3 separate regions of the Homo sapiens genome follow, and regions 1 and 2 are each linked to region 3. Evidence: promoter capture Hi-C in 16 types of primary human blood cells and fetal thymus (Javierre and others, 2016). All regions are on one chromosome and are shown on one strand. The core of a region is centred on a gene start or on the middle of the fragment in contact, and the rest is flanking DNA. Distances in the headings are between cores, read along the strand shown. Region 1 overlaps GRIK4 (glutamate ionotropic receptor kainate type subunit 4). Region 2 overlaps GRIK4 (glutamate ionotropic receptor kainate type subunit 4). Region 3 holds the start of ARHGEF12 (Rho guanine nucleotide exchange factor 12).

The links. The method cuts DNA at HindIII sites, captures the fragments that hold promoters and counts their contacts. A CHiCAGO score of 5 or more calls a contact.
Region 1: a fragment that was not itself captured here is called in contact with the fragment with the promoter of ARHGEF12 in region 3 in 2 of 17 cell types (total CD4 T cells and total CD8 T cells); the score reaches 6.2 in total CD4 T cells.
Region 2: a fragment that was not itself captured here is called in contact with the fragment with the promoter of ARHGEF12 in region 3 in 6 of 17 cell types (total CD4 T cells, naive CD4 T cells, naive CD8 T cells and 3 more); the score reaches 13.5 in total CD4 T cells.

What each region holds. Positions count from the first base shown.
Region 1 is chr11:120,798,197-120,800,896 of GRCh38, forward strand. All of the region lies in intron 3 of GRIK4 (glutamate ionotropic receptor kainate type subunit 4), which reads left to right. Among named protein-coding and RNA genes, the nearest start is that of TBCEL, 220 kb to the right of the region's middle. RefSeq lists an enhancer at 534-1,208. The HindIII fragment of the contact is 219 bases long and covers 1,319-1,537 here.
Region 2 is chr11:120,687,841-120,690,540 of GRCh38, forward strand. The region is part of intron 3 of GRIK4 (glutamate ionotropic receptor kainate type subunit 4); the gene reads left to right. Among named protein-coding and RNA genes, the nearest start is that of GRIK4, 180 kb to the left of the region's middle. The HindIII fragment of the contact is 6,971 bases long and covers 1-2,700 here.
Region 3 is chr11:120,334,845-120,337,683 of GRCh38, forward strand. ARHGEF12 (Rho guanine nucleotide exchange factor 12) reads left to right here and starts at 1,569. Exons shown (of 41, transcript NM_015313.3): 1 at 1,569-2,431. The coding sequence starts at 2,400. RefSeq lists a silencer at 1,156-2,025. The HindIII fragment of the contact is 6,393 bases long and covers 1-2,839 here.

The DNA of each region.
Region 1 (2,700 bases), core at 178-2,677, 460 kb after region 3:
GCCCTGTTGTCGCCTAGGCTGGAGTGCAGTGGCACAATCTCGGCTCACTGCAACCTCTGCCTTCTGGTTTTCCTGCCTTAGTCTCCCGAGTAGCTGGGATTACAGGTGCCCGACACCACACCTGGCTATTTTTTGTATTTTTAGTAGAGATGGGGTTTCACCACCTTAGCCAGGATGGTCTCAAACTCCTGACCTCACGCAGGTAATCCACCTGCCTCAGACTCCCAAAGTGCTGGATTACAGGTGTGAGCCACTATGCCAGGTTTTGTTTTTGTTTTTGTTGTGTTTTGTTTTGTTTTTGAGACAATCTCACTCTGTCGACCAGGCTGGAATGCGGTGGCATGATCCTGTTGGCTCACTGCAACCTCCGCCTCCTGGGTTCAAGCGGTTCTCGTGCCTCATCCTCCCCAGTAGCTGGGATTACACGCACACACCACCATTCCTGGGTAATTTTTTTGTATTTTTAGTAGAGACAGGATTTCACCATGTTGGCCAGGCTGGTGTTGAACTCCTGACATCAAGTGATCCGCCCGCCTCGGCCTCCCAAAGTTCTGGGATTACAGGCGTGAGGCACTGGTGTCTCTTCTTATAAGGACACTGATCCTATCAGATCAAGGTCCCATCCTAATGACCTTATTTAACCTTAGTTTTGTCCTACAGACCCTATTTTTTAAGGCAGTAATATTGGGGGTTAGAACTTCAGTATATGAATTTGGTGGGACCTGCTGAAGTCCACAGCACACTCTTGAATGTTTACTTTGCCAAAACAAAATGGGGATAGGTGGGACTGCTGGCTCCGGAGCAGACCCTTTGGTGTGTGCTGCCTCCTGTGGTGCAGGCGTAATTGTGGCCTTTGAACACTGATGAGGCAGAGGCAGGCCCAGCGTGACTCTGAAACATGAACAACTACATCAAAACATTCCCAGTCCCCAGGCCCACAGGGGACATGCTCATTTTCTGAGAGATTATTTTACTACTTTATTTATCTTACTACAAGTGATTGTTAAATAGTTAGTAGGTTATAGATGGAAACATTGGTAACAGTGAGCTCATTTGGCCCAAAGGGAAGGATAGCTGCCTCCATGGTCTGAACACCATCTCAATGGGGTGGAGGGAGGACAGGGAGAAGGGAGGAGGGGGAGTTACCTGAGAGAGTTTTCAGAGGTCCAGGGGCAAGCCTGTTGCTATTGGTGTTTTAGGGTTCATTTACAGTCTGTAGATGGAGGCTTCCTTTACAGTCCCTGGAAGCCTCATGCACGCTCCCTAGCGCACCCCCTGCTTCGCAGCAAATCCTTGAGTTTTTATAAGAAGGAAGACAAGCTTGGTCAGGGTGCAAGGTCTGGAGTCAGGCTGACCTGGGCTCACTTCCCTCCTCTGTCATGCTTCAAACCTGTGAGAACGGGCAGATCATGACCTCTCTGACCTCCAATTCCTCGTGTCCAAGTGAAGATAAAATATCCACCTCATGGACTTGTTGCAGAGATTAAGTGAGATAGAGTCCACTAAGTGGTTATGCTGACATTGTAGCTTAATGTAAAGCTTGTGTGTCATGGATCCAGTGTCTGTCCAACTCATGCTGGATGGCACTGCCAGTTCCTGATACTTTAGATGTCTCTTTTCCTTGTTGTACAGCTTGGCTAATTTTTTCCTATTTTATATATTTATTTTGTGACAGAGTTTTGCTCTTGTTGCCCAGGCTGGAGTGCAATGGCATGACCTCGGCTCACTGCAACCTCCACCTCCCGGGTTCAAGCAATTCTCCTGCCTCAGCACCCCGAGTAGCTGGGATTACAAATGCCTGCCACCATGCCTGGCTTTTTTTTTTTTTTGTATTTTTAGTAGAGACGAGGTTTCTCCATATTGGTCAGGTTGGTCTCAAACTCACGACCTCGGGTGATTCATCTGCCTCAGCCTCCCAAAGTGCTGGGATTACAGGTGTGAGTCACCGTGCCTGGCCCCTATTATATTTTTAATAGCAAAACATTTTTTCCCACATCAACTCTTAGGTGGAACCCCAACCCCTGAAATGGATGCAGGTGGAATTGTGATGGTGGGAGCTGGTATGGGGCTGGAGACCCCAGGCAGCCTCCCCTCCACTTCTTGGAGGAGCCCAGGGGCCTGCCAGGGAGGACCATTTGAGAAGCATTCCTCTAGGCTGCCCTGCTTCCTTTCTAGTTGCAAGGTCGTCATTCTCTTATGCCACAGCATGACTGTCTCGGTTTCTGCTTTCTCAGTAGCCATCTCATTCTGGTCGTGCTTCCCGCAGGTGGGGGTGTGGGGGTGATTGAAATGTTCCCAGGCTCTTCAGTCACATTTATGGTGCTCTGGTCACTTCTGCGGGTGGCTAATCACCCCAGGTATGCGTGGACTTTGCTAGTTAATTCCCAGAAGTCCACTTGATTGCCTCGGACTTGGGATGTACCTCTGTCGCCCCATGCATGGCCAACCTGAGTAAATGACATTTAACTTTTATTATTCAATGAAGTTATGCATGTAAATAAATCCACAAATCAAGGAAGAAATGCTTTGCAATATTCTGTGTCCTGATTTTGGGTTTGTGGGATGGATTACAGTGAGTGTGGAGCAATGCACAGAAAAGACAGCATAGAACCTGGATCTCTGCGTCCGCGCAGACATTCAAGGGCCACGTGTCAGTGAAATGTATTCGGCTTGATTCCCTGTGTTGCTTTTCTGAATTCT
Region 2 (2,700 bases), core at 129-2,628, 350 kb after region 3:
TCAATTCTAGTCTTGCTGTTCAGTGCCTCAGAATGGCCAGAAAACACTCTCTGCTTTATAGAGACTTTCGGCTGAGATTTTTTGGCCTTCTCCTCCATTCAGCTTCAGAATTCTGTAAATGACTTAAGGAGAAAATTGGGACCCTATATTTGAGGACCCTCAAGTCCTTAATTTTCTCTCTCTAGTCCCAAGGCTGCCAGAGCTCTGCTGGCTTCTTTGTCCCCCAGCAGCAGTCTTTGCTTCTTGCAAACCTGGGTTCTCAGCCTCTCATCCTGGGCCTAGAAATGACATACCCTCCGGAAGTGATTACAGAATATCAGCTCACCTCTTCACACTTTCCCCCCTCAGTAACTGTATCCTCTCCCATCCTTCTTGCTCCAGCAGGTCAATGGTGCCTTGAAACAGATGATTGTTATATTTCTTCTAGCATTTCTAGTTCTTAGTGGAAGCATTGATTGGCCACAAACTATCCCACCCTACCCCGAAGAGGAAGTCAGATGCTTACTATTAACACATAAAAACCACAGGATTACAAGAGCAGCTCTTAGCTGGGTGTCTTGGTAGCTGGCCCAGCCAACTAGGAGCAAACACTGTTTAAGGCATTCCCTTGAGTGTCTGGGCTGCCTCACCATGAAGAAGGCAGGGAAATGGATGGGAGTGTAACTGTGGGCCCAGGAAGAAGGCATTCACTGGGATGAGGAATGAGTGTTCAGCAAGCCCAGGAGGCCTCGATACTTCATCAGGTTTCTAATGATTTTGTCAGAGTGTTAATCCCATGGGTGAGTAGCAGCATTTTGATACCAGCAAACAGATTGTGTTTCAGCCCAGATAATCCAATATGGAGATCTGCATGAGAGCCGAAAATAATTAATCACATTTTAATGGGGTTGAGAGAGGCTAGTCAAGGATGCTTTACATTGGAAGTAGAGCAATGGGGGTCAGAAAGGGCGTGAGATGTAAGAGAGAGGTTGAACATGGGAGTAGCCCATATATATGCCAGAATGGAGTGTGCTTATGGATGTGGTATGGAAGAAAGAGAGGTTGTATGTGCAGAGAGCATTGTATGGATATTCCCTTCCATCACAGAAACCTTTCTGCACCAGGTCTTGGGAAAACAGAGATAAAGACCAAAGTCCTACCCTTCAGGACTTCACAGTCTGATGGTAGAGGCTGACAAGTAACCAGATGATCAATAACAATAGTCCTAGGTGCTAGGATGGAAGAAGGCCCCTGCTGCATTGGGAGCACCAAGCCCAGTCAGGGCTTGGGTAAGCCACAGGGATGGGTGGAGGGCCTTCCAGGCAGAAGGAACAGGTTGAGGAATAGTGCTGCTACAATATTGAGATAACACGGACATAATTCTATGGAAACCGGAAGTTTCCATTGCCTCTGCCCTTACCCTCGTCGAGCCTTCATAACCTCTTGCCTGGCAAGAGCCTCCTACCTGCCTCCCATCCCTCACTTCTTGAGCCTATTCTAAATGTTGAACCCATGCTTTTCTTCCCAAAATACAGACCTGGCTGTTGTTGACAGCCCAGGAATTTCTTAGGGTTTCTCTTATTTATGAAATACCAACTCCTTAGTGTGCAGTATCCCTTCCATGATCCAGCCATACCCACCCTCCTTTCCTTCATCATCTTCCTCCATTCCCTCCCAACCCTACACTGCACCCCTGTTCTAGAGTTCACTTGGCCACTCAGTATTCCTGTAGACAACCAGCACTTTCTTTGTCCCTTGGCTTTCTTGGTGGTGTTCCTTGTGCCTGAAATGTCCTTTCCTGCCATCTTCACCTGATGAAAAGTCTACCCTTTACCTCAGACCCAGATCACATATCACCTCCTTTCTGGAAACTTCCCTGATCCTCCCAGTCCAAATGAGTCATTTCTCTTCTGAGTTACCTGATAGTTTCCTCCTCTGTTAAAATAAATCACACTCTGCTCATCTCATAGCAGCTTTTGTCTCTGTCTGTTGGTTACTCCCACACCCCCGCCAGGGCAAACTCCTTGAAGGCAGGAGAACACCCTTTCATCTCCATGGTCTCCACCACAGCTCCTTTGGTGCCTTGTGCATTCCTGGTGCTCGATAAATATTTATTGATCGAATGAGTAAATGAGTATCGAATGGGCTTTCCATGTGTTTTGCTCCAGGTGTCTCTTATTGTAATTAAAGTTTTTTTTTCCTTAGTCAATTTCAGGCAAAAAGCAACATAAATTTTATGTGAGGTTTGAGAAGGACTGTAAAAGTGATTTATGGTTGGGTAGGAGATCTGTGCAAACAGGTTAGGAAAATGCTCAGAGTCAGCTTCTACCTGCTCCCCTCGTCACTCCAGACCCTAAATGCTGAAGCATAGCTGCCCTGTCGTCCTGGTGCGTGAGTGGCTTTAGTGTCTGGTGTTGAAGTGCTGAATAAAAAATGCTCACTCCTGAGAGCATGGTAAGATGTTTGTGGGTAGTGTTCACATAGAATGCCCTGCAGCTTGATGTTCGAGAATGATCTTTTGTGTGGGCTTGTGCTTCTAGGCACATCTCTATTGTCCAGCCACATTCTCCCACTGCAATCCTTGGCAAAGCACACATGGGGCTGAAACCTGTGACCCTGCCTCCTGGTTTCACGCTCTCACCAGCTGAGCCCCCACACTGCAGCAAGAACTGGCTGCGCCAATCTCTTTTTATTCTAAGAGTGAAGTCGAGCATGGGCAGC
Region 3 (2,839 bases), core at 319-2,818:
GTATATGTGTGTGTGTGTGTATATATATATATATATATATATATATATATATATATATGAATGGGATTCCTTCCGGTTGCATGTAAACACTCAATTTAAGAGTCTTCAGGGTAGAATTGTCATGCTAGAATACACCAGCAGGTGGCAATGTGTCCTGGTCTCATCATTAGGGAAGTGCCTTGGCTAATCTGCTTCTATTCTTTCCAAAAATAAACATTACAAAATTAGTTGGCTGTGCCTTGAACCTAAAAAATCGAGCAATAAAGAGTCGTCTCTGGTCTCTGTTTATCTTTTCCTTTTTTTCCCCCCCGTTCTAACTAACGTCAGCGTGAGCTCATGCCTCTATTCGGGGATAATGATCCTTTCATGAACTGTTGCGGAATGACTTTTTGCAACAGCATTGTTAAGAGGTAATTGTTTCCTCTCTCCACATCCACTGTTTATTAGATTTGATTTGCTACTTGGATTCCACAAAATGGCTGAAATCCCTTGTCACCAACATAGGTTTAAGCTCAAAAGTCTGAAAATAGTTGGATAAAGGGAATAGCCACTTTGGATGTTTGCAGGCAGAACTGAAGAACTGTATTACATGTGGTACCTAAATTGCCAAAATACTGAATTATTCAATCATAAAACTAGATGGGTATCTAAAGCTCTCTACCCAGTAGGGGAAAAAACCGAAAAACCGTTTGGGAATCCTTCAGAGAGAACCGTAATGCTATTTACTGGATAAATATACTTCATTTTCTTCTCCCAGTTCTTTCCACAACACGCTTGTTAAGTCGCCATGGAAAGCACCATGCTTTATCAATTTGGCAAATAACACATTTCATTTTGCCAAGGCAGAAACAGCCTAAAAGTAATATTTATACCGAGAAACCCTGGCTGCAGTCCCCAGCTGCTCTCCCGCAGCCCTGCGCCTCCGGCTCATGCAGCGCTCTCCCCCCGGAGCCGGCAGGTGCCCAGGTGAGCGGGGCCTGCGGAGGCAGCGAGGGGCGCCGGCCGGGAACCGGCAGAACGCGTGCAGCCAGAAGACAGGAGAGATAATACATTCCCTTAAGTAATAAAAGTTTCCAGGACAAGGGGGGCTGGTAATTTTCAAAGAGCCTCCCGGCACGATGTCCTCGGGATCTGGGGGGCGCTCTCGGGCGGTCTCTGGTGAAAGTCGACTTAGTACAAACTGGACTCGAAGGGGCATGTCTCGGCACTCAGGGGCCCAGGCGCCGCGGGAGGTGGGTGGGCCTCCCGGGGCTGCACGGGTCCCACCTCCCTCTGCCCCGTAGGACTACTTTGCCGCTCTCCCAAACCGGGCTCCGGCGGAGGCGTCCGTTCAAGGGCGAGAGCGCGGCCCTGAGCGGCGGAGGGATCCCGGGTGAGGCGGCTTCCCGAAGTCAGAGGGGAGGGGGCCATAAAGTCGGCGGGGGACGGGAAGCGCGAGCTCGCGCCGGACGCGGCCAGGGCCGGGAAACCAGAACCGGAACCGGAACCCGCGCGCGCGCCCGCGGTTGCGCGGCCCCCACGGCCGCCGGCCTCCTCCGCTGTCTGCGCGCGCGCCCGCGAGGGCCTCCAGAACCCGGCGAGCCGGCCCTGCGCCGGGAGACGCCGCCGCCTCCGCCTCCCGGACCAGGGCTTCCAGGCCGGGCCGGACGGGCATCTCCCGCCCCTCGCGGGGAGCGTCGGGGAGGAGCCGCCGCCTCTGGCGATTGCGGAAGAGTCCGGGCCTCAAAGGGATGGGGAGCAGTCCGCGGCGCTGAGAGACCCGGGTCCCTGTCACCTCGGGCCGCGGGACCTCTCCGCCGGCGCCAGCGGCTCGTCCCAGCACCGGGAGCCTGGTGAGGGCGGCGAGCACAGAAGGAGCCCCGGGCCCGGGACATGGAATCGCGCGAGCCCGGCGCGGGACGGCCGGAGACGCGGCCAACGCTGCGGCCACGAGCAGCCGGCAGCCCCAGATAGAGAGCCGGGAGGGAGGGCCCCGGCCCTTGCCGCGGCGGGGAGTTCGAGGCCCCGAGACTCCGGAGGAGGAGCCGACACCCGTCCGTGAGCTGATCCCGCCCCAGCCCCGGCGGGAGTCCCGGGTCCCCTTCCCACTGCGCGCGGATTTCCCTCTCTGAGGAAGTTTATCCTTGTGCCTTCTGGAGGATTTCTCTCTAGCTCGACTCACTCTGGACTGACTCGCTCCCTGGCTTTCTCAGTTCGTTTTGGGAGATAACTTGTTTTGCTCCAAGCCGCATCCGTTGACCCCTTACAGTCGGATGGTCTAGATGACTGAATGGAGTTTTGAGTTGGACTTTTGTGTCCCTGACGGAGTTGGGCCTGATCCCAGAGCACTGGGGGTGGGGAGGAGGTGTTACTGTAAAATGCAAGTTGGATAAAAGGAGGACCTCTCGCCAAGGGCCCCAATGAGTGGCACACAGTCTACTATCACCGACAGGTTGGTATGAATTCCTCCTTCGTTCGGCCTCCCGGAATCGGGCCCGACCTAGCAGGGGAGTCGGTGATTGCAGATTGCCTTTGGCCAGCGAAGTTGACAGGCAGAGGAAAGAGGGTTGTTTCGGAGCTGTGCAGTTAGCCTGGGGTTGCTGCCGAGTTATCCAGTTGATTGGCTTTTGGAAATGTAATTTTTCCGGAGAGAAACTTCCCTTCCGATTCTCAGAGAAGGGGGAGGCAAAACCATGATTGTGGTTTTCCGCCTGTAGTGTGCATTAGGATTGTGTACTCGTCTGGAAATCAGAGGAGAAGGTCATTTTAGGTGAAGGTCGGTGCCTGAAGTCGGCTCGGTATTGGTGTATTATTTATCAGCTTTAGCCGTGTCCTGCAGTAGATTCTCAAGACAATTACA